Linked DNA regions of Homo sapiens: regions 2, 3, 4, 5 and 6 are each linked to region 1. The links are contacts of gene promoters, found by promoter capture Hi-C in blood cells and fetal thymus (Javierre and others, 2016). All regions are on one chromosome and are shown on one strand. Each heading gives the region's core, a stretch centred on a gene start or on the middle of the fragment in contact. The rest is flanking DNA. Distances are from core to core; before and after follow the strand shown.

What was found. The method cuts DNA at HindIII sites, captures the fragments that hold promoters and counts their contacts. A CHiCAGO score of 5 or more calls a contact.
Region 2: a contact is called between a fragment that was not itself captured here and the fragment with the promoter of CXCR3 in region 1, in 3 of 17 cell types (activated CD4 T cells, M2 macrophages and non-activated CD4 T cells). The highest score is 7.1, in activated CD4 T cells.
Region 3: a contact is called between a fragment that was not itself captured here and the fragment with the promoter of CXCR3 in region 1, in 1 of 17 cell types (non-activated CD4 T cells). The highest score is 5.7, in non-activated CD4 T cells.
Region 4: a contact is called between a fragment that was not itself captured here and the fragment with the promoter of CXCR3 in region 1, in 6 of 17 cell types (non-activated CD4 T cells, total CD8 T cells, activated CD4 T cells and 3 more). The highest score is 8.8, in non-activated CD4 T cells.
Region 5: a contact is called between a fragment that was not itself captured here and the fragment with the promoter of CXCR3 in region 1, in 4 of 17 cell types (total CD8 T cells, activated CD4 T cells, non-activated CD4 T cells and 1 more). The highest score is 6.7, in total CD8 T cells.
Region 6: a contact is called between a fragment that was not itself captured here and the fragment with the promoter of CXCR3 in region 1, in 1 of 17 cell types (activated CD4 T cells). The highest score is 5.4, in activated CD4 T cells.

The regions. Positions count from the first base shown.
Region 1 is chrX:71,615,846-71,620,608 of GRCh38, forward strand. CXCR3 (C-X-C motif chemokine receptor 3) reads right to left here and starts at 2,666. Exons shown (of 2, transcript NM_001504.2): 1 at 2,593-2,666; 2 at 74-1,614. The coding sequence starts at 2,604. The coding sequence ends at 520. RefSeq lists enhancers at 86-135, 396-665. The HindIII fragment of the contact is 3,713 bases long and covers 1-2,818 here.
Region 2 is chrX:71,383,192-71,387,954 of GRCh38, forward strand. TAF1 (TATA-box binding protein associated factor 1) reads left to right here. Exons shown (of 38, transcript NM_004606.5): 13 at 771-944; 14 at 1,754-1,858; 15 at 4,070-4,270. Among named protein-coding and RNA genes, the nearest start is that of TAF1, 19 kb to the left of the region's middle. The HindIII fragment of the contact is 3,197 bases long and covers 791-3,987 here.
Region 3 is chrX:71,420,219-71,424,981 of GRCh38, forward strand. TAF1 (TATA-box binding protein associated factor 1) reads left to right here. Exons shown (of 38, transcript NM_004606.5): 29 at 1,091-1,158; 30 at 2,899-3,021; 31 at 3,756-3,848; 32 at 3,936-4,020. It also overlaps the pseudogene PABPN1P1. Among named protein-coding and RNA genes, the nearest start is that of TAF1, 56 kb to the left of the region's middle. The HindIII fragment of the contact is 6,757 bases long and covers 1-4,763 here.
Region 4 is chrX:71,437,075-71,441,837 of GRCh38, forward strand. The region is part of intron 32 of TAF1 (TATA-box binding protein associated factor 1); the gene reads left to right. It also overlaps the pseudogene LOC124905281. Among named protein-coding and RNA genes, the nearest start is that of TAF1, 73 kb to the left of the region's middle. The HindIII fragment of the contact is 3,445 bases long and covers 104-3,548 here.
Region 5 is chrX:71,455,616-71,460,378 of GRCh38, forward strand. TAF1 (TATA-box binding protein associated factor 1) reads left to right here. Exons shown (of 38, transcript NM_004606.5): 35 at 2,626-2,751; 36 at 3,937-4,093. Among named protein-coding and RNA genes, the nearest start is that of OGT, 75 kb to the right of the region's middle. The HindIII fragment of the contact is 775 bases long and covers 2,880-3,654 here.
Region 6 is chrX:71,476,411-71,481,173 of GRCh38, forward strand. It overlaps a transcript of TAF1 not described here. Among named protein-coding and RNA genes, the nearest start is that of OGT, 54 kb to the right of the region's middle. The HindIII fragment of the contact is 6,178 bases long and covers 1-4,763 here.

The DNA of each region.
Region 1 (4,763 bases), core at 1,416-3,915:
AGGGAGAACCAGGAAGTGCCCCTGGAGCCCAGGTGGGCTGGGCTGACTGTAATGATGCACGAACATGCCCTGGTCCTGACGATCTTGTTTATTGAAAAGTTTTAAGCAGGATTTTAGACATAAAAATAAAAGAGCAAATATAGAGGTCTTGGGGACCATGGCCACAGTCACTGCTGAGCTGGAGGCCTGGGCTGTGGCTTCATGGGGCAGCACCCTCTACGCCATGCCTTGTACTCCCCGCACTTGGGGAAGATGAAGTTTTAGTTTCCAAATGAGAAGGGCAGTGGGGCTCCAGGCAGCCACCTCGGGCGGCAGGATGGGGCTTGGCAGCTAAGGAGCAGCAATGGTGCAGTCCTCAGAGCTGGGAGGGTGGCTTCCCGGGAGACCTGGTGGTGCTGGGGCTGCCAGTGAGTCCCGGGAGCGAGGATATTGGGGAGAGCCAGAGCCGGCAGAGGGAGGGAGGAGCCTGGAATGCGGGGAAGTCAGACTGTGGGCGAAAGGGGAGCCCGGATTCCGGCCTCACAAGCCCGAGTAGGAGGCCTCTGAGGTCTCAGACCAGGATGAATCCCGGCGGGAAGACGATGGCTGCCTCTGGAGCCCTCTCTGGTTGGGGCAGCCCAGGCGCAAGAGCAGCATCCACATCCGCTCCCGGAACTTGACCCCTACAAAGGCATAGAGCAGCGGGTTGAGGCAGCAGTGCATGTAGCCCAGGCCTGAGGTGACCGACTTGGCCACGTCTACCCTGCTTTCTCGGCCACAGTTGCGGGCCAAAGCGCCCAGGTCCATGAGGATGTCCACCAGCACCACCAGGTGATAGGGGGTCCAGCAGAGGGCAAAGGCCACCACGACCACCACCACCAGCCGCATGGCCCGCAGGCGCCGCTGGCCCCTGGAAACCAGCAGCACGGCCAGGATGTGGGCATAGCAGTAGGCCATGACCAGCAGGGGCAGCAGAAAGCCAGCCACCAGCTGCAGCACCCGCAGAGCCGTGCGGCCCACCTGTGGGAAGTTGTATTGGCAGTGGGTGGCGTTGAGGCGCTCGTCGTGGTGGGCCGACAGGAAGATGAAGTCTGGGAGGGCGAAAAGCAGGCAGAGCCCCCAGACAGCCAGGCAGGTGAGGGTCACGCGGGCCGGGGGCCCCCGGCGGTAGAGCTGGGTGGCATGAACTATGTTCAGGTAGCGGTCAAAGCTGATGCAGGCCAGCAGGAGGGCTCCTGCGTAGAAGTTGATGTTGAAGAGGGCACCTGCCACTTTGCAGAGGCCAGAGCCAAAGACCCACTGGACGGCAGCGTCCACTGCCCAGAGCGGCAGTGTCAGCACCAGCAGCGTGTCTGCTACAGCTAGGTGGAGCAGGAAGGTGTCGGTGCTGCTCAGGGCTGTCCGCCGGCTCAGCAGCACGGCTGCCACCGCGCCGTTGCCCAGCAGCCCCAGCAGAAAGAGGAGGCTGTAGAGGGCTGGCAGGAAGGCCCGGTCGAAGTTCAGGCTGAAGTCCTGTGGGCAGGGCGGGGAGGTACAGCACGAGTCACTCTCGTTTTCTCCATAGTCATAGGAAGAGCTGAAGTTCTCCAGGAGGGCGGCAACCTCGGCGTCATTTAGCACTTGGTGGTCACTCACCTGTGAGGGCGGGAACGGGGAGGAAGGGGCTGTGTAAAGGCCTGGCAGGAACTCTTTTGTGATTGAGTCTGATTTAGTCTGTGATTTACTCTGAGCAGCTCCTCCTATAACTGTCCCCGCCAGTCTTCCAGGGCCGTACTTCCTCAACTCCATCCGCTCAGCCTGGGCTCTGGGATAGTGACTTCCCTTCTCAAAGGCTGCTTCTCTCGCATTCTTCTGCGTGATCCCATCGGCCCAGGGACCCCTGGGCAGGAAGAAGAGCGTCCCTCCAGTGCCCAGAGCCCTCTCTGCCCACTGTCCTCTCTCTCCCTGCTCTCCCTTCAGGCTTGCCTTGCGTCCTCAGTGCCCCACCCCCAACACATAGTTCAACCACCTTCCTCCCCAGCGCCTCTCCACAATCCCCTTTTCCAGTCACTAACCCTCCTCTTCCCTCCTTGGCCCTTGTCCGGGGACCCCAACTTCCTGCGCCCCCCCCCACCGTGTGGCCTCTCTACAAGTCACCACGCCCCCCAAATGCATGCAGTCTGCCCAGTCCTTCCCCCTCCCTACACTGAGGCTTGCACGGCCATTTAGCTGCCCACAAGGGGATCCCCCACTTAGCTTGAGAAGGAATCTTCTTTATCCCCTCACCCCCAGCACTATGGACCTGCAGGTCTCCCCAGTACCAATTTAGTCCAGCACGCCAAGAGTCAAAGTTCCAAGTCTCCTGAAGGGAGCCTTCGAGTCTACTTGCCCCCCGCCCCCCCCATTTTGCAGACGAGACACCGAAGCCAGAGAGGAGAGGAGAGGCACCCAGGGTCAGTGGCCAAGCTGGGTTCCCAATTCCCCAGTGCTGTTTCTGCCACAACCCATGCGGCCTCCAGCTACTCACCCAACCCTGTGGTGACCCTGGGCTGTGGGCCAGCCCTGGCATTCCCCTGATGCCCCGGGTTTTCCACTTCGAATTCTGGCCTGGCCTGGCTGGGCAGCAGCACTTACCTCAAGGACCATGGCTGGGCTGGTGCTCTGGCTGCTGGGTGGTGTGCTGCCTGCCCCTCTGCTTTGGTGCTTGTGGTTGGAAACCTGCAGTCACAGAGGAAGTGGGAGTTTCAGGCAGTTCTCAGCAGCAGCCTCTTCCAGGGAGTTACCTCTACCAGACCTCCCTAAACCTCAGGCCACAGAGTTTCCGTGACTGGGTGAAACCTCTCTGGAGGAGCTGGCTACAAGCTTGGGACCAGAAAAGCTGGGCAGAGGATGACTGGCTGGGGGCAGGTCCTTTGAGAAGAGAGGTCTGAAGAGGAAGCAATGCAGCTGAGAAGTGAAGGGCAACCCTACTGCCTGCACTGGTAGGGTCAGTGCTCCATAGATTGGAACTCATCTGTCCTGGCCTTGAGTTGATCTTTGCATGATTGTAAAGGCTGGGTAGAGAAATAAGTCTGCAGAGGAGATCCACCTTCTTAAAAATTTCAGCTAGGTGCAGTGGCTCATTCCTGTAATCCCAGCTACTGGGGAGGCTGAGGCAAGAGGATCACTTAAGGCCAAGAGTTTGAGACCAGCCTGGGCAGCATAGCGAGGCTCCATCTCTACCAAAAATAAAAAAAGCCAGCCGGGCATGGTGGCATGTGCCTGTAGTCCTAACTACTTGGAAGCCTGAGACAGGAGGATTGCTTGAGCCCGGGAGTTCAAGTCTGCCTTGAGATATAATTGTACCACTGCACTCCAGCCTGGTGACAGAGTGAGGCCCTGTCTCTTAAAAAGGGAATTAAAATATTTTTTTAAAAAGCCGTTACACTAAATCTAGCTTTTTACCACCACCTCTCCCTGCTAATCAGTGGGGAAAAAGAAAGGGAACTACCAGTAATGAACTTGCTATGTGATAGACATTGCTTTAGGTGCTTTCTCCGACACTGCCTTATTTCAACCACACAACTCACTTGTGACGTGCGGGGTTATCTGCATGGATGATTCAGAAAGGGGACAGGCCTTCGCCAGACACGGCAATTAAAGGTGGGCGTGAGGATTGATCCCACGGCTGTCTGATTCTCCTTTTCCTACTCATGAACACTGTCTTCAGTTTCTTTTAAGTGAATAAGCTATGATATATTCATGCAGTTAAAAACAAATGAACTAAAGCTACACATTTGAACATGGATGCATCTAGAAAAGCCAACGATCACATGGTAGAAGAAGCAAGTTACAGAATGCCATGTATAGTTTGATGCCACTTACATAAACTCTAAAAACCACCACAAAATCAATACCATGTTGTTTTGGATAACACTGTTGGTTCTCGAGGTTTAAAACAGGGACAGGAGATACCACAAATTCATAAAAGCAGTTGCTTCTCGGGCAAGAAGGAGGATGGGGTTGGGGAGGAGGCCATAGGAACTTCTTGATCTTAAGGAAAAGCTGTAAGGCAGCCTTGGTACAGCACATCAGTCACTTTATGGCAGAGAATGGTGAACAATTCCTCTCCCCACCTGCCCTCAGCTCTCCCCTTTGCCCTCTTCTCCCCTCCCTGTCGCCCTCTTCTCATTACCAGTGGGCAAGGCTGCCCGTAATTTGCTTCTCCCAAGCAGTTTCCTCTTTCTCTCTCTCCCCTAGTTGGAAAGCAGGGGTGGAGGGAGAGAGAGAAAGAAGAGAGAAGAGAGAAGAGAGAGAGAGAGAAAAGCAAGTGCTAGCCCATGGTCTTGGGGCCAGTTTTCAGCCAGACTGCCCCACCAAAGCCTCCAGGCTAGGGCCTGGAATTAAATTTACACCCACATGAGGCATACTTGCAAGGCATCAAGGCCCTTCCCCTCCTGTGGACAGATGTGACTCTCCTTGCTCTAAACAGCTTGTCACCTGCAGGGTTCAGGCCAGAGGGAACTGAGGGCCTGGCAGAGGTCAGGAGCAGTGCCAGTGGAGGGAGCAGGAAGGATTCCAGAAACCAGGCCAGTTAGGATGAGCAGGACTTGGCCAGTAGCTACCTATGGGGGTGGAAAAGGGTTGGGAGCTGGGACCACAGTCTCCCAGTGCTGACCTGTGAAGAGGTTTGAGTTCCATGGGCTTCTGCAAATGAGAAAATTGACCATGGAAAGCCACATTTGTTCCATTTAAAGGTCTGTCTTATATTCAGCAATCATGTTATTTGTCCCCTTTTTTTGGTATCAAAAGGGCCTTTTCTTTAT
Region 2 (4,763 bases), core at 1,139-3,638, 230 kb before region 1:
GCTATAAAGGATATTGGGGTATAAATTAAGGGAATGTACCAGGTATTAGATTGTATTAGGGAATTGGTTATTTTCTCAGATGTGATAGAATGTTATTTTGGTTATTTAGGAGAATGTCTTTATTGTTAGGTGATGCATGTGAAAATATTTAAAGGTGAGGTGTCAGAATGACTGCATCTTTCAAAAACTGTCCAGCAAAGTCTATAGAAAGATAAAAGTTTAAAAAAATGGCGAAATATAAACAGCGACGTGGGATAATAAGTGTTCATAGTACAGTCGTCCTTCGTTATCTCTGGGAGATTGGTTCTAGGACCTTCTCTGGATACCAAAATCTTTAGATGTTCCAGTTTCTGATAAAATAGCATAATATTTGCACATAACCTATGCACATCCTCTCCTATAGTTTAAATCACCTCTAGATTACTTATAATACCTACTCCAATGTAAATGCTATGTGAATAGTTGTTAACACTGTTATTGGTTAGGGAATAATGACAAGAAAAGTCTGTACCTGTTCAGCACAGATGCACTTGTATTTTCTGAATATTTTCTATCTATGGTTGGTTGAAATCACGGATGCAGAACCCATACATGGATATGGAGGGCCGACTGTACTATTCTTTGAACTTTACAGTATGTTTGAAAATTTTGATTATGAAATTGGAAAATAGGTAAAATGTTTTTGGTGTGTTTGTCTCAGATTGAACAACGTCATTGTGTGTAGTAGTGTCCTGTCAGGAGCTAGATGGTATTTTCTTTGTTCTGGACAGATGAGAGAACAAGAGAGGCAAGCTTCAGGTGGTGGAGAGATGTTTTTTATGCGCACACCTCAGGACCTCACAGGCAAAGATGGTGATCTTATTCTTGCAGAATATAGTGAGGAAAATGGACCCTTAATGATGCAGGTTGGCATGGCAACCAAGATAAAGAACTATTATAAACGGGTGAGTCTCTGCTCAGAAAATTTTTTTCCCATACATAATTCTGCTTATGCTTCCATAAACTTTTATGTACAAACTTTTTGTTATTAACATAGCTGTAGTGAGACAAACTGCAAACTTACATACAAATTTTTTATTATTAACGTAGCTGTAGTTAGAGATCTACTGGTAATCTGTGAACATATACCATAAATTTCTTGGGAGAAAGGAGTGGTACCTTTTTTTGTAGTTATAACATGTTGAGCATCTCAAATCTCAAAATTCGAAATCAAAATCCAAAACTTTTTTTTTTTTTTTGAGACTGAATCTTGCTCTTTTGCCAGGCTGGAGTGCAGTGGCATGATCTCCACTCACTGCAACCTCCACCTCCTGGGTTTGGGCAATTCTTCTGCCTCAGCCTCCTGAGTAGCTGGACTACAGGCGTGTGCCACCACACCCAGCTAATTTTTGTATTTTTAGTAGAGACAGGGTTTCATCATGTTGGCCAGGATGGTCTCGATCTCTTAACCTCGTGATCTGCCCGTCTTGGCCTTCCAAAGTGCTGAGATACAGGTATGAGCCACCATGCCCGGCCAATCCTAAACTTTTTGAGCACTATGATGATACTCAAATGCTCATTGGAGCATTTTGGATTTCCAGATTTGGGATGCCCAACTGGTAAGTATAATGCAACTATTCCAAAATCCGAAACACTTCTGGTCACAAGCATTTTGGATGAGGGATACTCAACCTGTATTAGTAAAGTGCTATGGTCATATTGTGTAGGATTATTGATATATTCTAAATAACTGGGTCTTCTGTGTTCCTTATAGAAACCTGGAAAAGATCCTGGAGCACCAGATTGTAAATATGGGGAAACTGTTTACTGCCATACATCTCCTTTCCTGGGTTCTCTCCATCCTGGCCAATTGCTGCAAGTGAGGAATTCTTTCCTGTTTTTACTGTTAACTAAGGAAATTGATAAATGAGGAACCAGTCAGCTCAGAAAGAACTATTATAATTCTAGTTGATTGAGATGCTTTAATTTTAAGTACAAAGAAAATAAGTATAATCCAAAAATGTTTTAAAGAAATCTTTTTCTTAAAACTGGCTGTGAATTGTGTTATTCTCAGGCTAAATGTAAAATAGGTTTTTAAAAATACACACTGGTAAGCTCAGTAACATCTGGGAAGCATAAGGAAGTCAACCTAGGATGAATTTACTATAAATTTACTATAATTTATGAATATTTAATTTTTGTGTATAAAATTGATAACATTTTGATCACATTAGCTGTGGTTATTGTGAATATTGAACCACACCTGAACTGTGCCATCTACAGTCCCCAGCCATAGTGAAATGCTTTTTTTTTCCCTCCTTTGTTCTAATGGGTGTAAAGAGGCTCTCTTATAACAGCTTTTATATATTCAAGGGGGGAAGTATGATGGTCCACAAATGATGTGGAAAATCTCTAGCACTCTCCCATCTTGTTTTTTTTCTCCATTTCATTTCTCTTGGCAATCTTAACCATTTGTCCTACTCTTATACCTAGTTTATTCTACTGTTGTTGTTGTTTATTCTCCTAAAGCATCTGCAAAGCTCAGTTTTTTTCTTTATCCTTTACATTCATAGTCTATTGCTAACCGGATGTTTAGTATCATCTTTGTATTGTTCTTCTCCTTTCCCTGGAACTTTCTGTTGAGGTTTTCTACCAATTCAGCCTCTTCTTTTGTGGCTACTTTTGTAGTCTCTTAAAGATCTTTTTCTGGCCGAGCGTGGTGGCTCACGCCTGTTAATCCCAGCACTTTGGGAGGCCGAGGTGGGCGAATCACCTGAGGTCAGGAGTTCGAGACCAGTCTGACCAACATGGAGAAACTCTGCCTCTACTCAAAATACAAAATTAGCCGGGCATGGTGGCACATGCCTGTAATCCCAGCTACTCGGGAGGCCGAGGCAGGAGAATCACTTGAACCCGGGAGGTGGAGGTTGCAGTGAGCCGAGATCGCGCCATTGCACTCCAGCCTGGGCAACAAGAGCGAAACTCCATCTCAAAAAAAAAAAAAAAAGATCTTTTTCTGTATTCTTCTGTAATTCTTTTTCTGCCTATATTTCACATGTAGAATTTTCTTTCCACACTCAGTGATGGTCTTCCCTCTTTCTGTCTACTCTTCTGATTTTCGGGGAAGGCTTTCCTTAGACTCAGGCTTCTTGTGACAGTTTATCCCTATCTTGCCTCTACTTAAACTGGCTCAAATGTTTCTGTTCAGCTGTCCTCTGTCCTACTGTCTTGTGTTTTCCTTTTGTTTTTTCCCAGCCTATTCTGTCTAGCACTCTTTCTACCTCATTGGTTGTTTTATGATTTATTTGTTTGGAGATAGGGTCTGGCTCTGTGACCCAGGCTGGAGTGCAGTGGCACGATCTTGGCTCACTGCAACTTCTGCCTCCTGGGCTCAAGCCATCCTCCTACCTCAGCCTCCCAAGTAGATGGGACAATAGGCGCACGCCACCACATCCAGCTAATTATTGTATTTTCTGTAGAGATGGGGTTTTGTCATGTTGCCGAGGCTGGTCTTGAACTCCTGAGGTAAAGTGATCTACCTGCCTCGGCTTCCCAAAGTGCTGAGATTACAGGCATGAGTCACTGTGCCCGGCGTTGTTTTGTTTTTTAATTAGTTTAATAATTTATTCAACAAATGTTGCTCTCACACGTTGTGTGTTGGGCTACACTGGGGTCTAGGGTAGTAGTATAGTACTTGGTACATTATGAAGTGATTTTCATATGTAATCTTCATAGCAGTCCTGTGAGGTATAGGCATTTTTAAGTATCTCTGTTTTGTAGATGAGGAAAACTAAACTTAGACATGTTAAATAGCTTAAATAGACATGTTAAATCATAGAGGTAATGGCAGAGCTAGCATCATCTGAATTCACATCCTGTATTTTCTCCCCTACTGACTCTGAAAGATAGTGGATGAAAAATTGTTTAGTCACATTTGATAATCTATATTTTAATTTATTTGTATTACTGGATAGACCTTAGATGGCGTAATTAAGATGGAGAGCAATAAGCTTGGTATTTCTTTCTCAGCAGTTGACTGAATTTCCTAGGGCTACTCTGTATATAATTTTTGTGTTTTTACTTTTGTTAGGCATTTGAGAACAACCTTTTTCGTGCTCCAATTTATCTTCATAAGATGCCAGAAACTGATTTCTTGATCATTCGGACAAGACAGGGTTACTATATTCGGGAATTAGTGGATATTTTTGTGGTTGGCCAGCAGTGTCCCTTGTTTGAAGTTCCTGGGCCTAACTCCAAAAGGGCCAATACGCATATTCGAGACTTTCTACAGGTAAGAATGGGAGGATAGGGAGGGGATTGGGTTGTATACAGAAAGGGTATGTTGGGGCCGGGCATGGCGGCTCATGGCTGTAATCCCAGCACTTTGGGAGGCCGCGGTGAATGGATCACTTGAGGTCAGGAGTTCGAGACCAGCCTGACCATCATGGTGAAACCCTGTCTCTACTAAAAATACAAAAATTAGCTGGGCGTGGTGGCTCACGCCTGTGATCCCAGCACTTTGGAAGGCCGAGGTGGGCGGATCACCTGAGGTTGGGAGTTTGAGACCAGCCTGACCAACATGGAGAAACCCCGTCTCTACTAAAAATACAAAATTAGCCAGGCGTGGTGGCACATGCCTGTAATCCCAGCTACTCAGGAGGCTGAGGCAGGAGAATCGCTTGAACCTAGGAGGCGGAGGTTGCAGTGAGCCGAGATCGCACCACTGCACTCCAGCCTGGGCAACAAGAGTGAAACTCAGTCTCAAAAAAAAAAAAAAAATTTAG
Region 3 (4,763 bases), core at 645-3,144, 200 kb before region 1:
AAACCCCGATCTGTTGTGCTGATTCCTGGTCTGTTGGTTCATTTTGGGATCACCTTGATTTGCCTTCCTCTAAATAGGGAGTCATCTAAGGCCAGGGAAGTCCTCACTGACTCTTTGTCTGAGAACTCTATATATGCAAACCCTTTGGAATGGCCACTAAATTTGTCACAGAGTATGGTAACACGGTTGACTGAACCACAGCCATGAAAGTGAGCTTCCAGCTCTTCTGCTGTTGCACCATAGTCAACATTGCCAACATAGATGGAACGGGCATCGGCCTCCATCTTCTCCTCAATGACATGATCACTGGGCCAGCATTTCCTGGAGGTGGACTCATACTCATCTGCTTCTCTACCTCGTTCTGTAGCTCCTTTAGCTTCTCAGCTTCTTCCTCCATCTCCCTAACTCGAGCTTTGATAGCTTCCAGCTCCGGATCCTCAATGGCGCTGTCTTCCGGGTCACCCTCGACCAGTCATGGCTCCTCCTCCTCCTCTTGGCTGCCAGGGGCTCCCGAACCAGGCCTGGAGCTCCCGTGGGGGTGGGGGGCGCAAGGCCAGGGCGGCTCCTCTTCAGGCTTGGGCTCCGGCTCGGGGTCCAGCGGCAGCTCCTCAGGCTACAGTTCCTCAGACTCCAGGCCGTTCCCGTAGTCCCCTACGCCCCCCGGGGCCCCCTCCCCGGCCTCCCCACCGGCCCCAGGCACAAGATGGCGCCACCGCCCTGACCCGGAGGCCTGACCGCCTGCAGCCCCAGCCGCCCGCTGCCGCCTGCTCACTCTTTAGGCATTCTTAAAGAAATTATTGCTCCCCTTCCATAGTATTATGTTTGAGGTATTAAAAGCAGCAGTAGTACTACTGTGTGTAGATACACACAAGGAAAGAGTTAAAGTTAGTTTATTCATTCATATTGTGTAACTGCTATGTTTTAGGTGCTGGAAAATGGACATAAGTCTGGTGTATCTGTCTAACCCATCAGTTAGCCTGGTGCCTGACACATTTTAGGTTCTTAAGTAAGTGCATTAAAAGGATAAAGAAGTGTTGGCAGCTTTTGCCTCCCGTTATTAGTGGTTTCATCTCTTTCTGTTCCTCTACAGGGCCAAAACACTCATTGACTCAGATCTCTCAATCCATGCTGGATCTCTGTGATGAAAAACTCAAAGAGGTAAGACAGTTAGAATGAGAGAAAGGCAGTGGAATTTGAAGGTGGGGGTGGGATATCAGGGTTTAGGAAGTAGGGAATTTAACAGAAGGAAAAATATATGCGGGAGTAGCAGATCTTTAGTATATGTGAAGGCTGGAAGGGACTTATAGAACTCATAGGCCAGTCCCTTTTGTAGATGGAAAAACTGGGCCCGTAGAAGAAAAGTATTTGCTCTGGACATCTTGACTATTAACAAAGTTAGAATTAAGATCCAGCACCTACATAACTCATTAGAAAGGGCAAAGGAAAGTGAGTTTCCAGGAAGTCAGCTGTAGCTAAGAGACCAGTCAATGTTTTAGGAAGAATTTTCATTTTTTCTTCATATTTTTAACCAACCAAGCAGCAAGTGCTAGAAGTTTTAATTTTTAAATGATAATCTATCTATATTCCCTCTTCTTACTGAAAACAATTAATGGTACTTTATAAACCTACAAAAGTGTAAGTATGAAGTAGACATTTCACAAAAGAGGACAACTAGCCAGTAAACACGGAAAGATTCTCAACTTGATTGATTATTGAGGAGATGCAAATTTAAACCACGATGTCACTACATACCCACTGCAAAGGCTAAAATTAAAAAGACTGACAATACTAAATGTTGATGAGGATTTGGAGCAATAGGAATACAAACTTTTTCCTACTAGAGTCTAAAATGAATTTATTGGGTTAGGTCCCATTACGCAAAAGTCACTAATCAGTAATAATGTTTAGTGTTTCCAGCAGTAGTTTTACAGCAAAAACAGAGAGCATGATCTTAAAGCCTAAATTGCTAAAGATGTTTTTTTGTGTGTGTGGGGAGCTATGATGTTGACACTCAGGGAAGTATAAATTTTGGTGAACCAGAAGAATAGAATGTAGAGTACCTAAAGAAGTTGTTGACACATCCTTTTTGACCCTTTTACTGGAATTTTTTTTTTTTTTTTTTGAGACAGGGTCTGGCTCTGTCACCTGGGCTGGAGTGCAGTGGGATGACCTTGGCTCACTGCAACCTCCGCCTCCTGGGTTTAAGTGATTCTTGGCCTCCCGAGTAGCTGGGACCACAGGCGTGTGCCACCACGCCCAGCTAATTTTTTTTTTTTTTTGTATTCTTAGTAGAGATGGGGTTTTGCCATGTTGGCCAGGCTGGTCTCGAGTTCCTGGCCTCATATGATCCACCTGCTCGGCCTCCCAGATTGCTGGGATTACAGGTGTGAGCCACTGTGCCCAGCCTGGAATATCATTTATCTTGACTTTTTGTCATTCCATAGGCAATTCAAAGTTACACTTTCTGGGGCAAGGGTAATAGATAGCTAGCTGAACTTAAATTATCCTTAATTTATTTTTTATTTATTTATTTTTTTTGAGATAGAGCTTCGCTCTGTCCACCCAGGCTGGAGTGCAGTGGTGCAATCTCGGCTTACTGCAAGCTCCACCTCCCAGATTCACGCCATTCTCCTGCCTCAGCCTCCTGAGTAGCTGGGACTATAGGCGCCCGCCACCACGCCCAGCTAGTTTTTTTTTGTATTTTTAGTAGAGACGGGGTTTCACCGTGTTAGCCAGGATGGTCTTGATCTCTTGACCTTGTGATCCGCCCGCCTCAGCCTCCCAAAGTGCTGGGATTACAGGCGTGAGCCACCACGCCCGGCAAATTGTCCTTAACTTTTCTATGGTGATCACACCTTAGGGAAACCTCTGTCTTGGCTTTGCTTTGTTTAATTTCAGAAAGAAGACAAATTAGCTCGCTTAGAGAAAGCTATCAACCCCTTGCTGGATGATGATGACCAAGTGGCGTTTTCTTTCATTCTGGACAACATTGTCACCCAGAAAATGATGGCAGTTCCAGATGTAAGCTGTCTCTGTGCCAAATACTGTGAGGATCGTGCAGGGGAAAGGAAAAATGTTTAGGGTGTACACGTGTGTGTATTTTGGAGAGTCTGAGTGGTGGTGTATGTCAGTTGTGACTGGTATGTGATTTTAAATATTGACCTTTTTGCTATATGGGTACATTATCTTTTTTTTTTAAGAGTACATTATCATTGAAATCAAAGAGGCCAGGAATCTTTGGATGTAGGGAGGTTTTTGCTTCCTGTTGTTGACATTCAGTATATGAATGCTCCTGAATAGCCCTGTAGAGAGAGGATGCTAGCGAATGTGAGGCTTTTGATTTAGAGGTGCTTCTAAGCAAATGATGCTTTGATAATTAGACACCATTGGTTGTCTTTTATTTCATTTTTATATTGTTACAGTGATCCTCCCCAGGAATTCTCAACAGAGTTTCCTTTTGTACTATAGGAATGTGTTCTATATGTGTAATGCTATAAAACTTCTCGTTGGGACTAGGGAATAAGGAATTTTAATTATGACTATACAGCAAGTGTTTTTATCCTATCATGGCATAGAAATCCTTAAAGGAATCTATGAACCCCTTACATTATAAACAGAAGTTTTGTATGATTATGTGTTTTTCTAGGAAAAGAGTCCATAGCTTTTTTTAGGAATATTTGTAACCCAACAAAGGTGGTGAAATTCTCGTATGAAGAGTGGTTTCCATTTAATTTCTTATGCTTTCTATTTACTAGTCTTGGCCATTTCATCACCCAGTTAATAAGAAATTTGTTCCAGATTATTACAAAGTGATTGTCAATCCAATGGATTTAGAGACCATACGTAAGGTGAGTGAGTGATTTGATCTAAATGCCTTTTTGTAATCAAGTGACTGTGTGTGTGTGTATCTGAGTGCCTGATTCTTTTCATCACAGAACATCTCCAAGCACAAGTATCAGAGTCGGGAGAGCTTTCTGGATGATGTAAACCTTATTCTGGCCAACAGTGTTAAGTATAATGGTGGGTATTTCTCATTATTTTCTTTCCATGAATCCGTCCATCTTCTATCCATCTAACATTACTTAGCATTATTAAAAAATTTTTTTTTGAGACAGGATCTTGCTCTCTTACCCAGGCTGGATGCTGTGGTGTGATCATAGTTCACTGAACCAGGCACACGCCACCGTGCCAGGCTCTTTTTTTTTTTTTTTTTTTTTTTTTTGGTAGAGACAGGGTTTTACTATTTTGCCCAGGCTGAGCTCAAGCAATCCTCCCACCTCGGCTTCCCAAAATGCTGGGATTACAGGTGTGAGCCAACACGCCTAACCAGTATTATTAAAATTTATGTGCGTAAAGCAACCTTGAGCAGTGATAGCAGAATCAATTGAGTGACCTAGTCTTTCTATTTATTTATTTATTTTGAGATGGAGTTTCACTCTTGTTGCCCAGGCAGGAGTGCAATGGCACGATCTCGGCTCACTGCAACCTCCACCTCTCCCAGGTTCAAGCAATTTTCTTGCCTCAGCCTCCTGAGTAGCTGGGATTGCAGGTGCCTGCCACCATGCCCAGCTAATTTTTGTATTTTTAGTAGAAACGGGGTTTCACTATGTTGGCCAGGCTGGTCTCGAATTCCTGACCTCAGGTGATCCACCTGCCTCAGCCTCCCAAAGTGCTGGGATTACAGGCGTGAGCCACTGCTCCCAGCCAGTCTTTTTTTTTAAAGCAAGCATATATTTTAGTGTGTATGTTCTATAAAGATTGCT
Region 4 (4,763 bases), core at 576-3,075, 180 kb before region 1:
GTTGCTTTTGAATTTCTCATTGTCGAGTTTATTCCTAGGTAATTTAAAAGTTTTTATTTTGTTTATTTATTTTTCATTGTCGATATTCAATATAAAATTTAAAAGCTTTGCTGCCATTGTGCTTGTACTCTTTTTTTCCTAACTGGTTATTAAGTCTAAAGGTTTCAATTTGAAGAATATGAATAGATGATTCAGTATTGTTCATAGGTTAAATATAATGCTTAAAGTATTTCCATAATACTAGTTTCTAAGTCTTTGTTATGAGGGTACTACTCTGTAAGTTTGGCCACTCATGAATAATAAGGGTCTTTTTTTTCCATCAGTGATTGGGACCCAAGGTATAAGTATTTCTGACCAGGCTTGGTGGCTCACAACAGTAATCCCAGCACTTTGGGAGGCTGAGGCGGGTGGATCACTTGAGGCCAGGAGTTCAAGACCAGCCTGGCCAACATGGTGAAACCCCATCTCTACTAAAAATACAAAAATTAGCCGGGACTGGTGCTGGTGACATGCACCTGGAGCTGAGATCGTGCCACTGTACCCCAGCCTGGGCGACAGAATGAGACTCTGTCTCCAAAAAAAAAAAAAAGAAAAAGAGAAATATTTCCATATGAAAGTTAAGTCCTTCATGTCATTGAAGAGAAGAAAAACTTCCCCCGATCCTGCTTGGGTCTCTTGCTGCCATCTTGTCTCTTTCTCTTTCCATACAGACTTTTTTATTATGGAAAATATACATAATATAAAAATTTGTCATTTTAACTTTTTTTTTTTTTTTTTTTGAGACGGAGTCTCATTCTGTTTCCTAGGCTGGAGTGCAGTGGCGCGATCTTGGCTTACTGCAACCTCCGCTTCCTGGATTCAAACGTTTCTCCTGCCTCAGCCTCCAGAGTAGCTGGGATTACAGGCGTGCACCACCACGCCCGGGTAATTTTTGTATTTTTAGTAGAGACGGGGTTTCACCAAGTTGGCCAGGTTGGTCTCAAACTCCTGACCTCAGGTGATCCACCTCCCCTCAGCCTTCCAAAGTGCTGGGATTACAGGTATGAGCCATCATGCCCAGCCGTCATTTTAACTATTTTTAAGTGTACAAATCAGTGGCATTAAGTTCAATCACAGTGTAGTGCAACCATTACCACTGTGTATTTCCAGAACTTTCTTATTATTCCAAACAGAAACTCTATACCCCTTACATGGTAACTCCCCTTCTTCCCAGCTCCTGGTAACCTCTATTCTAGTTTCTATCTCTATGAAATTGCCTATTCTAGGTATGTCATATAAGTAAATCATACATTATATACAATATTCTTCCTTTTGTGTCTGGTTTGTTTTACTTACCATGTTTTCAAGGTTCATCCATGTTGTAGCATGTATCAGAGTTTCATTCTTTTTTATGACAGCCAGACTTCTTTTATGAATATGTAACGTCTCTCACTATTTTCTTTGTCTTCCAGTAATGCCTCGCTTAGCTTTAAGCTGGCTTCCACCCTGTCCAGTCTACCAAGTAAACAGGATCACATAATTATCAGATATAGTGGGCACTTTTCTGTCCTTATCTTGACCTCACCCTAGTATTTGACATCATTGACCATTCTTTCCTCACAACAGTATTGTGATTGGCTTCCATGACAATTTTTAGCTCTGGCCGGGGGAGGCCGAGATGGGTGGATCACCTGAGGTCAGGAGTTCGAGAGCAGCCTGGCCAACATGGTGAAACCCCGTCTTCACTAAAAATACAAAAAAATTAGCCAGGCGTGGTGGCACGTGGTATGAGAATGCACTCAGCGTTCTTGGGAGGCTGAGGCAGGAGAATCACTTGAACCTGGGAGGCAGAGGTTGCAGTGAGCCAAGATCATGACACGGCACTTCAGCCTGGGTGACAGAGCAAGACTCCAAAAATAAAAAAGCCCTTATTTTCCTCCCACCTCTTAAACTATTCCTTTTTAATCTCCTTTGCTGAATGTTCTGCCCACTCCTGTAACTTCAGTTGCCACCTCTTTTCCTGATGACTCTATTGTAGACAAAGCCACTTGCCAAACATTTCCTCTTGGATGTCTCAATGGAACTTAAAACATACCTCAAGCTGAATGTATTATTGTTTCCTCCTATCCTTCCTTATTCCAACTTTCTCCCTCTCTCCTTCTTTACTTGAATCACTCATTTACAATTTCCAATCTGGGTTTAATGGGGCATTAACATTACCCAGTAGCTACGTCTAGGAAACTCTTTTTTTTTAATTCTTCACTTTGAATAAGTTCCAACATCCAGTATGTCACTAAAGTTCACATTACATTTTGCCTAGTCGCCTGGTGAATGTCCCAGCCTTTACATTTATCTCCTTCTAACCTATCATCTACATTTCTGTCAGGTAGACCTTTTAAAAAACAAAAAAGCAAAATCTCTTATAAAAAGATCAAATAATCTAGAAATACATAAAATTAAAAGTTAAAGCCTCTGCCTGCCCTCCCACTCCTGTCTCCCATATTTTCATTTCCCCAGAGATAACAGCTTGGTCTATAGTCTTAGGTACTTTTTTCTATGCTTAGACAAAACGTGTTTACTTATTACGCTGCTCTCAGCACACTGCCTATAGGGTAGCCCTGTTCCGCAAGAGCAGTCAAAAAGAAAATTACATGTAGGTTTTCAAGTTTTTGTTTTATTCTGTAATTTGCTCTTTTTTGCTCATGAATGTATTCTGATCCTTTTTATTTTGAGATAATTATAGATTCAGGAAGTTGCAAGAAATGGTACAGAGTCCTGTGGGCTTCTCACTCAGCTTCCTTCAATGGCAATATCTTACATAGCTGTACTTCAGTATCAAAACCAGGAAATTTATATTGGTACATTACTTTTAAATAAATTACAAAACTTAGTTTTCACCATTTTAAAAATCTATTCATTTGTGCATAAGTGTGTGCAATTTCGTGCCATATATATGTTCCTGTAACCACCACCACAATCAAGACTTAGAACTGTTACCATAAAGGAACTCCCTGTTCTTTGTATCTGCACCCCCCACACACACATGCCCACCACCACACCCACCACTGTTCCTGTTCCACTTATCCGTTCTCCATCTCTATAGTTTTGACATTTGAGCATGTTATATAAATGGAATAGTATAATATGTAACCATTTGAGATTGACTTTTTTCGCAAAGCATAATTCCCTTGAGGTCCATCTAAATTGTTGTATCAGTAGTTCATTTTTTAAATTGTTGAGTGTTCCATTGTGTGGTTGTACCAGCGTTTGTTCAAACATTTACTCATTGAAGGACATTCAGATTTTCACTATTTTGCCATTGTGAGTAAAGCTGCTGTGAGCAATCATAGACAGGGTTTTGGATGAGTTTAATTTTTCATTTCTTTGGGATAAATGCCCAAGAATAGAATGGTATATGTTTAGTTTTACAAGACACGGCACTATTTCATTTTTTTTTTTTCCACATCAGATGTGGAAAAAAAATGTACTGGCATTGTAATAAGGCTTGAGGGAGGCACATCTCACACATGAACGTGAAAACCCAATGTCGTCACACTTACGTCATCATAAGCTTATGAACTACAAAAAGATTGTGCCACACTTTTGGAGTGTCTGTACCATTTTACATTCCCACCAGCAATGTATGTGATCCAGTTTCTCTGCAGCATTCACTGTTACCACTTTTTAAAATTTTAGCTGTTCTTCTATTGTGATTTTACTTGGCATTTTTCTTTTTTTAAATTAAAAACATTTTCTTGCTCTCGGTCTTAAAATTATTTCCTCAAATACATTGTGTTTTTCTAATGGCTAATGATGTTGGGCATCTTTTCATGTGCCATCTGTGTCTTCTCCTCCTCCCTTCTTCTTTCTCCTTCTTTCTCCCTTCTTCCTTCTTTCTTCTTCTTCTTGTTATCTTTGCTCACTGCAACCTCCCCTTCCTGGGTTCAAGCAATTCTTGTGCCTCAGCCTCCTGAGTAGCAGGGATTACAGGCACGCAACATCATGCCCGGCTAATTTTTGTATTTTTAATAGAGACAGGGTTTCATGATGTTGGCCAGGTTGGTCTCGAACTCCTGGCTTCAAGTGATCCTCCCACCTCAGCCTCCCAAAGCCATGGTGCCAAGCCCCATCTGTATATTTTCTTTGGTGAAGTGACTGTTCATTTCTTTGGCCCAGTTTTTTTTTTATTTTTTATTTTTATTGTTTGGAATTCAGTGCAAATTTTATTAGACTACAAAAACATATCATAGTTATTTTAGATATATTTATATGAAGTCATAAAAGCTATGATTTTTGAAAAACAGCATAAGAAATTTTTTTAATTTCTTATATAAATTAACTTTAGTGTCTTAAGGATTCAATGATACAGTTTTTAAATTTTTTAAATTGATAGCAATTGTACATATTCTTGAGGGCACATAATTATATTTCCATACATATAATTTATAGTTATCAGATCAGGGTAATTAGCACGTCCACCATCTCAAATGTTTATCATTTTTTTGTGTTGAGAATGTGCAACATCCTTCTAGCTATTTGAAACTATATATTGTATTATTATTAACTATAGTCATTCTACGGCGCTATAGAACACTAGAACTGATTTCTCCTATCTAGCTATAATTTTGTATCTTTTTTTTTTCTAGGGTACATGTGCACAACGTGCAGGTTTGTTAAATATATATACATGTGCCATGTTGGTGTGCTGCATCCATTAACTTGTCATTTACATTAGATATTTCTCCTAATGCTATCCCTCCCCCAGCCCCCCACCCCACAACAGG
Region 5 (4,763 bases), core at 2,017-4,516, 160 kb before region 1:
TCTAGCTTTGTAATCTTGGAAAGTTAACCTCTCTCACTTAGTTTCCTTTTCTCTGAAATCTTTTCAAGATTGTTGTAAACATTAAATGAATTAATTTAATTTGCCTGACACATCTTTATCTGTTCTCTGAGACCCTTTCAAATTTAATCAAATATTTTAATGCAGAACTCTGCCAATTCCCACAGGAAAATTTTTTTTCATTCTATCCAGGTTTCCCTCTGAACTGATAATGCAACCTATGTGACCTCTGTTGGATTATTGCTGTCTCTATATCTCGTTCATGCACTATCCCTATCTATCTTTTACTCTCTCTTTCATCTCACAACCTAGGTTACTGAGGGGCCAGGTATAAAAGAACCCTCAGATACTTCTTCAAGGTCCAGAACAAGGAAAGGCTCTTGGAGTGTGTGGGCAGATTGGGTCAAGGGGGCTTGGGTGAGTGATGTTGCCCAGGAAGGCCCTATTTGCTAATAGGCCCACAGCTTCCACAAGGTACTTTCTGGTAAGTTAAAGCCTGGGTATTAGCCATCATTCCCCAGGAGAGTCTAGCCATTGAATGGCACATGGTTTGCTCATTTCTAGGACAGCCTAAGCCTAGTCCTTTGGTGAGTCAAAGCCTTAGACCCCAAAGTCACCTTCCTTTCTTCACTACGTCTCCCAGACTACCTCAAATGGCTAAGGACAACCTGTTAGCTATTTCTCTCTTGAGCATTAGCTGTCATTTGGTGCAGTTAGAGGGTTTCCTATGAAGAGTAGGATTAGATAGTACTGCTTCATTATTCCAGTTCACCTTTTCATCATTCCCTTCACTCACAAACAGTTTAAGATAGTAACCAACTCATTATCTCTTAACCTGAGGAAGGTGTACATGAGTGACTGTCCTTACTTTACTTACATTACTACTGTCAAACTCAAATGTTATTAGAGTGTGTTTGCAAAAGTGTAACCTGCCTTAATACAATGTTGGTTGTAAGAAGCATGATAGTAATCATACCTTTCAACTTCTAAATGGTGGTGGTCAATAATGTATTTTCTTTTTTTTTTTTTTTTTTTTTTTTTTTTTTTTTTTTTTTTTTTGAGACCGAGTTTTGCTCTTGTCACCCAGGCTGGAGTGCAATGGCGCAATCTCGGCTCACTGCAACCTTCGCCTCCCGGGTTCAAGTGATTCTCCTGCCTCAGCCTCCCGAGTAGCTGGTTTTACAGGCATGGGCCATTACGCCTGGCTAATTTTGTATTTTTAGTAGAGACAGGGTTTCTCCATGTTGGTCAGGCTGGTCTCGTACTCCCGACCTCAGGCCCACCTCGGCCTCCCAAAGTGCTGGGATTACAGGCGTGAGCCACCGCGCCCGGCCCAATAATGTATTTTCACTCAACTGTTTCCACCTAACTTGGATTGCATCATCTGTTCAGCTTAACACCTTATCTAAAACTGTTGACTTTGCAGTTTTCTGCACTGTGCCGTAGGGTTTTGCAGAAATTTCATCCCCTTATTTTTCCTTTCTTCTGTTCCACATTGATTTACCTGCTCTGTAATGCTTTGAATTTTGTTTTGCCTCTGTTTCTCCAAAACCCTCTTCTGAATCAGTTTTGTTTCCTTTTTTAAAAAACACAATGTAACACATATCTGTTCTATCTGTTGATAAAAGTAACATGTTTGTTAGAGAAAACTGGAAAATAAAAACAAGAAATAAGTTACCTCTTGTAATCACTTCCACCACTCAGAAGCAACATCAGCCAGTGTGAATATTTTTATTTCTTTCATATCTGTAGCGTATGTATTTGTGTTTATAGACACACTTTTAAAATGAAATTGATCAATATGGTTTTGTGTCTTAACTCTTTTCACTTTACATTATTTTGTGAGCACTTTATCTAGTCCTTCTTGCCCTCCTGTCACAGAATAGTCCATTTGCTGAATCCCTGTTCTTTCCAGGGCAGAAAACAGGGAAGGGATCTATAATATATTGAGTACCAGGCATGGGTAAGGAACTTACACATCTCTTAATTCTCACAACAACCCTGTGAGGTAGACATTATCATCCATGTTTTATAGTTGAGTTAATCAAGGCTTAGAGATGTTAAGTAATTTGTTACTCACTAGCAAGTGTTGGGGCCAGGACTCAAACCCAGGACATTTTACTCCAAGGCCTATGATTTTTCACCATGCCATTTTGCTTCGTAGCATCCTCTGATGGGCTCATAAACTATCAAAGCATTCTATGCTCTTGTTGGAATTGAAATTCCTTTATCTCATTTCCTCTGTCTCCAAATCAAGCAATCAAAATAGCACTGATATGAAGCCTTGGGCCTAAAAACCGAAAGACAAGGCTTAGAAAAAAACTAGGTTATTGACCAGAAAGGCTGTTAGGACATAAAATTGTCCCATAGCTTTGGTGCATTTCTGCTTCAGGCTTCTGATTACGTGCATCAGGCACCTGTCTACTAGAATAGGCAACATTTATAAGAGTCCCAAAAACTTGTCTGTAAAGCTGTGTCAAACTATGTTTCTCTTTAACTGAATTGCTCTGCATGATCTTTTTCTCCAGTAAATGCCTTAAAGGGGAGTTATCTGTATTTATTTTCCCTTTCCTAGATAGAAGCTAAGTTGTATGTTTTGTGCCACAGCCTCCTGATTTGTATGATACCAACACATCCCTCAGTATGTCTCGAGATGCCTCTGTATTTCAAGATGAGAGCAATATGTCTGTCTTGGATATTCCCAGTGCCACTCCAGAAAAGCAGGTAACACAGGTAGGATGTTCTTTTTCTCTTTATAAGATTGTTATTGTGCCTGCAAGTGGGGCTAGGGGAATGGTGATGGTGATGGTGATATGTGACATATGTCAAGAATGACTGGGCCCTTTGGCCCTGGGAATGAAAGCTTAGAAATGGGATTTCAAGTTGGGATGGCAGCAGGTCGTGTGACTGGTGTTATATTCTCTCTGTCCCCATGGGTAGAGTCAGGCACAGCAGAACTTCAGGGAAGACACAAGTATGAAAAAAGGGTGTGAAGCATCAGAGTAGCCTGACGGGTGACTAGAGCGACCAACTGCACTCAGACAGTTCAAAATAATTGGCCTACTTTATGTGTATTATAATTTAAATTAAAATTATTTATAAAATTAAATTTTAAAAATTGGCCTTTTCTAGAGGTATCAGAAATATCTACAGCTTTTCTACAGCTATTCTCAGTCAGGGTTCCACTGGAAAGTGTAAAACCCAGGAGGGTTTTTCTATCCCAAAGAGTTCAACACAAGCTATAAGGAAAGTTTGGGTTAGAAAGGAAGAGTCTCTTTGTAATAATACAGTAAGAGTAGACTAAGAGCCTTTCCTGTTCTTTGGGTTTTTTACTCCGGCTGTGATTTCCAAAGAATGGGGGAAAATGCGCATGCCTTGAGCTGTCTAAACAGCCCCCACTAGCAGTGGGATTGGCTGGGATATCAGGGAGGAGCATCCACCCTGGGTGAGAGCCCTTGGTTAACTCCTCCTACAGGCACGTCCCTCAATGATGTGCTATTTGTGTTCCTTACTCAGATGCGCCAGGGCCGAGGTAGGCTGGGCGAGGAAGACTCTGATGTAGATATTGAAGGGTATGATGATGAGGAGGAGGATGGGAAACCTAAGACTCCAGCCCCAGTGAGTATGCTTATAGAAAGCTTATGGTTACGTTATGCCCTTATATGATAGGAGCCCCATCAGTACAGGCCAGGCCAAATCCTAAGATGATATCAGGGGGTCTCCTTAGTGAGCCCCAATCTGACTTTAATCCTTGGGACCAACTAAACAGTCTATCCACCAAAAATAATTACTTAACTTCTTGTGAGGCAGCAAGTGGAGGGATGGGCGGGGCGGGGAGGGGGGGTGTGCCTGGTGGTGGCTTCTGGTCTCTTATGTGGTCAGTTGATAGGACTTTGACCCCCAACTGGTCTCATTCAGGAAGGTGAAGATGGAGATGGTGATCTTGCAGATGAAGAGGAAGGAACTGTACAACAGCCTCAAGCCAGTGTCCTGTATGAGGATTTGCTTATGTCTGAAGGAGAAGATGATGAGGAAGATGCTGGGAGTGATGAAGAAGGAGACAATCCTTTCTCTGGTAGGCCTCAACCATTGCTTCTATTCCTTTATAACTCACTACAGCACCCTCAGAACTGGACTGGATAGGCGCTCTTGGCCACATATGCTTTTATTGGAAGCTGCCTCTTTTATTGAATTCCTATTAATAGACCTGAGAGTACTGAGCACTCAGGCGTAGGATGATCATATTCATTAGCAGGAGGTACAAAAGACAACAGTGGAAAAGACAGTGCCTAAGTAACAGCTTTGATCTGGATACTTGTTAAAGGCTGGGCACAGTGGCTCATGCCTGTAATCCCAGCACTTTGGGAAGCCAAGGTAGGAGGAACACTTGAGACCAGGAGTTTGAGACCAGCCTAGGCAACATAGCGAGACCCTGTCTCTACAAAAAGTAAATAAATAAAAATTAGCTGGGTGTGGTGGCGAGTGCTTGTAGTTCTAGTTAGGAGGCTGAGGCAGGAGGATCGCTTGAGCCCAGGACTTCAAGGCTGTAGTGAGCCATGATCATACCATTGCACTACAGCTTAGGCAACATAGTGAGACTCTGTCTCCAAAGAAAAAGAAAAAAAGATGAGAACAGAATGATCAAGTGTTATATGTGGCAACAGGGAAGGAAAATTAAGAAAAATCCTGTTTGGGGATATTTTGTGGATTAATGGCAATGGCCGAGGAAAAGTATGGGAGTAGAT
Region 6 (4,763 bases), core at 1,446-3,945, 140 kb before region 1:
GGATTGCTTGAGTCCAGGGGTTCAAGATCAGCCTGGGCAACATGATGAAACCCCATCTCTACAAAAAACACATACAAAAAAATTTAGCCAGGCATGGTGGTACACGCCTGTGGTCCCAGCTACTTGAGAGGCTGAGGTTGGAGGATTGCTTGAGCCCAGGAGTTTGAGGTTGTAGTGAGCCATGATTATGCCACTGCACTCCAGCCTGGGCAACAGAGTGAGACCCTCTCTCTCTTTCTCTCTCCCTCAAAAAAAAAAAAAGACATTTTAAAGCAACAGTTAAGAGTTTGGGATTGGCACAGGAATAGGCAAATGTAGCAATGGAATAGAGTAGAGAACTTAGAAGCGGACCTGAACACATATGGAAACTTGGTAAATATCAAGGTAGCATTGCAGATTATTCAATAAACAGTGCTAGATCAGTTGGTTATCTATATAGGAAAAAAATGAAATGGGATCCCTACCTCGTACATCACGCAAAAATCAATCTAGATGGATAAAAGACTTAGATGTGCAAGGCAAAAATTTTAGACTTTTTTTTTTTTTGAGACTGAGTCTTGCTCTGTTGCCCAAGCTGGAGTGCAGTAGTGTAATCTTGGCTCCCTACAACCTCCACCTCCCAGGTTCAAGTGATTCTCCTGTCTCAGCCTCCCGAGTAGCTGGGATTACCGGTGCCTGCCACCATGCCTAGCTAATTTTTGTATTTTTAGTACAGATGGGATTTCACCATGTTGGCTAGGCTGGTCTTGAACTCCTGACCTCAAGTGATCTACCTGCCTCAGCCTCCCAAAGTGCTGGGATTACAGGCATGATCCACTGTGCCTGGCCAAAATTTTAGATCTTTTAGGAGAAATAAAAGATAATTTAAAAAATTTTTTTAATTTTAATTTTTTTTTTTGAGACAGAGTCTCACTCTGTCACCCAGGCTGCATTGCAATAGTGCAATCACAGCTCACTGCAGCCTCAACCTTCTGGGCCCAATTGATCCTCCCATCTCAGCCTCCTGAATAGCTGGGTCTACAGGCACATGACACCTGCCTGGCTAATTTTTGTACTTTTTATGGAGACAGGGTCTCACTATGTTGCCTAGGCCAGTCCCAAACTCCTGGCCTCAATCGATGCTCCTACCTCAGCCTTCCAAAGTGCTAAGTGCTGGGATCATAGGTGTGAGTCACTGTGCCCACTAAGAATATTTCTATAGCCTTGGTATACAAAAGGATTTCTTAGACAATAACATAAAGGGCAAATCATAAAATAAAATTTGGATGCATTTAACTGTGTTAAAAAATATAAACTTTTGAAGCCGGGCACGGTGGCATACGCCTGTAATTCCAGCACTTTGGGAGGCCGAGGCAGGTGGATCACTCGAGGTCAGGAGTTCGAGACCAGCCTGACCAACATGGTGAAACCCCATCTCTACTAAAAATACAAAAATTAGCTGGGCATGGTAGCACATACATGTAATCCCAGCTTCTCGGGAGGCTAAGGCAGGAGACTCACTTGAGCGCAGGAGGCAAAGGCTGCAGTGAGCCGAGATCACACCATTGCCCTCCAGCCTGGGTGATAGAGCAAGACTCTGTTTCTAAATAAATAAATAAACTTTTGTTCATCATAAGACATCATTTTAAAAGGTGATGGGCTGGCAGAAGATGTTTCCAATTCATATAACTGATAAAGAATAACTATCCTGGGCCAGGCATGGTGGCTGAGGCCGGCAGATCACCTGAGGTCAGGAGTTCGAGACTAGCCCAGCCAACATGGTGAAACCCTATCTCTACAAAAAATACAAAAAAATTAGCTGGGCGTGGTGGTGGGTGCCTGTAATCCCAGCTACTTGGGAGGCTGAGGCAGGAGAATTGCTTGAATTCGGGAGGTGGAGGTTGCAGTGAGCCAAGATCACGCCACTGCACTCCAGCCTGGGCAACAAGAGTGAACCCCCTTCTCAAAAAAAGAATAACTATCCTGGCCAACTGCGGTGGCTCATGCCTGTAATCTCAATGCTTTGGGGGCCGAGGTAGGAGGATCACTTGAGCCCAGGAGTTCGAGGCTGCAGTGAGCTATGATCATACCACTGCACTCCTCCAGCCTAGGTGATAGAGCAAGACCTTGTCTCAAACAAACAAACAAACAAACAAACAAAAACAAGAGAATCCTGGCCAAGTGCGATGGCTCACACCTGTAATCTCAGCATCCCAGAACTTTGACAGGCAGAGATGGGAGGATTGCTTGAGTCCACGAGTTTGAGACCAGACTGGGTAACATAGGGAGGTCTATCTTTAGCAAAAATTCTTTTTAAATTCTGAAAAAAAATATGTAAGACAATATATCGGTAAGAAAAAGACAAGCCATCCAATGAAAACTGACCAAAAAACATAAAGCAGCATTTCACAGAAGAGAAAACAGGAATAGCCAATAAACGTGAAAATGTTGGCCAGGCTGGTCTTGAACTCCTGACCTCAGGTGATCCGCCCGCCTTGGCCTCCCAAAGTGCTGGGATTACAGGCGTGAGCCACTGCACCTAGCTGACTTAATCAGCAATTCTACCCCTAGGTATATATGCTAGAAAAATTCTTGCACCACCGTACCAGAAGACATGTACAAGAATTCAAGAGTGTTAATAGCTGCACTGATCTTTATAGCAAAAAGTTGAAAATAGCTCAAATGTTCTTCAATAAGAGAATGGTTTAGTAAATTATGGTATTATTATAAAAGGGAAAACTATACATTGGTAAAAATACCTACAGATACAAATATCAACATAGATGAGTCCCACGAACATAATGTGGAAGGAAAGTTCAGAAAAATTCATATGATATGATTCTATGTATATAAGGTTCAAAAACACGGGTGAGAAAGCCATAAAGAAAAGTATAATTACTGGCCAGACATGATGGCTCATGCCTGTAATCCCAGCACTTTGGAAGGCCAAGGCAGGAGGATCACTTGAGGCCAGGAGTTCAAGATCAGCCTGGGCAATATGGCAAAGCCCAATTGCTACTAAAAATACAAAAATTAGCCGGGCGTGGTGGCGCATGCCTGCAGTCCTAGCTACTTGGGAGGCTGAGACAGGAGAATCTCTTGAACCCGGGAGGTGGAGGTTGCAGTGAACTGAGATCACGCCACTCCACTCCAGTCTGGGTGATGGAGTGAGACTCTGTCTCAAAAAATAAATAAACAAAAAGAAAAAAAAGTACAATTCCTAATAGCAGTTATATCTTGCAGGGAAGGAAAGGAATGCAATTCAGAAGGGTATCCAGAGAGCTTCAGAGGCTCTGGTAATGTTCTGGTTTGTAAGCTGATTGGTGGGCACTTAGATGTTCATTTTCTTATTCTTTAAATTATATATGAGATTTTTATCTACCATAAATGTCAGATATACTTTTGTATTTGTGATATATTTCATAAAAGTTTTTAAGCTGAAAAAAAAGTGACTGGAAGGTGAGAAAGCAGCTAGGCTATCAGGGGAAGGAGAATGATAGTAATAGCTAAAGGGAGAAATGGGATAACCAGAAAATTTTTAAAAGACCTATGAGGCCGGCTGTGGTGGCTCATGCCTGTAATCCCAGCACTTTGGGAGGCCCAGGTGGGAGGATCTCTTGAGCCCAGGAATTTTAGACCAGCCTGGGCAACATAGCGAGACCATGTCTCTGTGAAAAATCAAAAAATTATCTGGGCATGGTGGTGTGCACCTGCAGTCCTAGCTACTTGGGAGGCTGATGTGGGAGGATCACTTGAGCCCAGGAGTTTGAGGCTGCAGTGAACCATGACTGTATCACTGCACTCCAGCCTGGGCAACAGACTGAGACTGTCTCAAAAAACAAAACCAAAAACAAAACTAGCCAGACATGGTGGCATATACCTGTAGTCCCAGCTACTCGGGAGGCTGAGGCAAGAGGATCCCTTGAGCCCAGGAGTTTGAGGTTGCAGTGGGCTATGATCGCACCACTGCACCCCACCATGGATCCTGTCTCTTAAAAAAAGAGAAAGACTTATGAGCATGTTTACAGCCTTGATTCATTCAACAAACATTTATTGAATTCCCACTATGTACCCGGTAGTATGCTGGGCCTTGGGGTACAGAGATATATTTATTCAATTATGTAGTTACCCATTCTTCTAAAAGCCAGAAATAATTCATATATTCATTCAATAAATATTTATTAAGTGAATACTACGTACCAAGATTAATCTAAGTGCTGGAAATACAGCATTGAACAAAAGTCCTTTCATGGAGGTGGAGAGAGGCAATAAATATCTGTGAGGTGGTGATAAGTACTATAAAGAACACTAAAGTAATATAATGGTATAAAGAGAATGTGTATGTGTTAAGGAGGAGAGAGTTGCTATTTTAGATAAGGTGATCAGGAAAGGCCTTTCAGAGAAGGTGACATCTGAACAGAGAAATTAATGAAGTGAAGGAATAAATTATGTGGCTATCTGGGGGAAGATCATTCCAGGCAAAGAGAAAACACATGCAAGGGGTACTTAGGAGGCTATTGTAGTAATCTAGGCAGGAGATGATGGTGGCTTGGTTGAGGTTGATAGTAATGGAGATGGTGAAAAGTGTTTAGAGAAGGGACAGGATGGGCTGGGCGCGGTGGCTCACGCCTGTAATCCCAGCATTTTGGGAGGCCGAGGCGGGCGGATCACCTGAGGTCAGGAGTTCAAGACCAGCCTGGCCAACATGGCGAAACCCCATCTCTACTAAAAATACAAAAAGTAGCCAGACGTGGTGGTGCATGCCTGTGATCCCAGCTACTCGG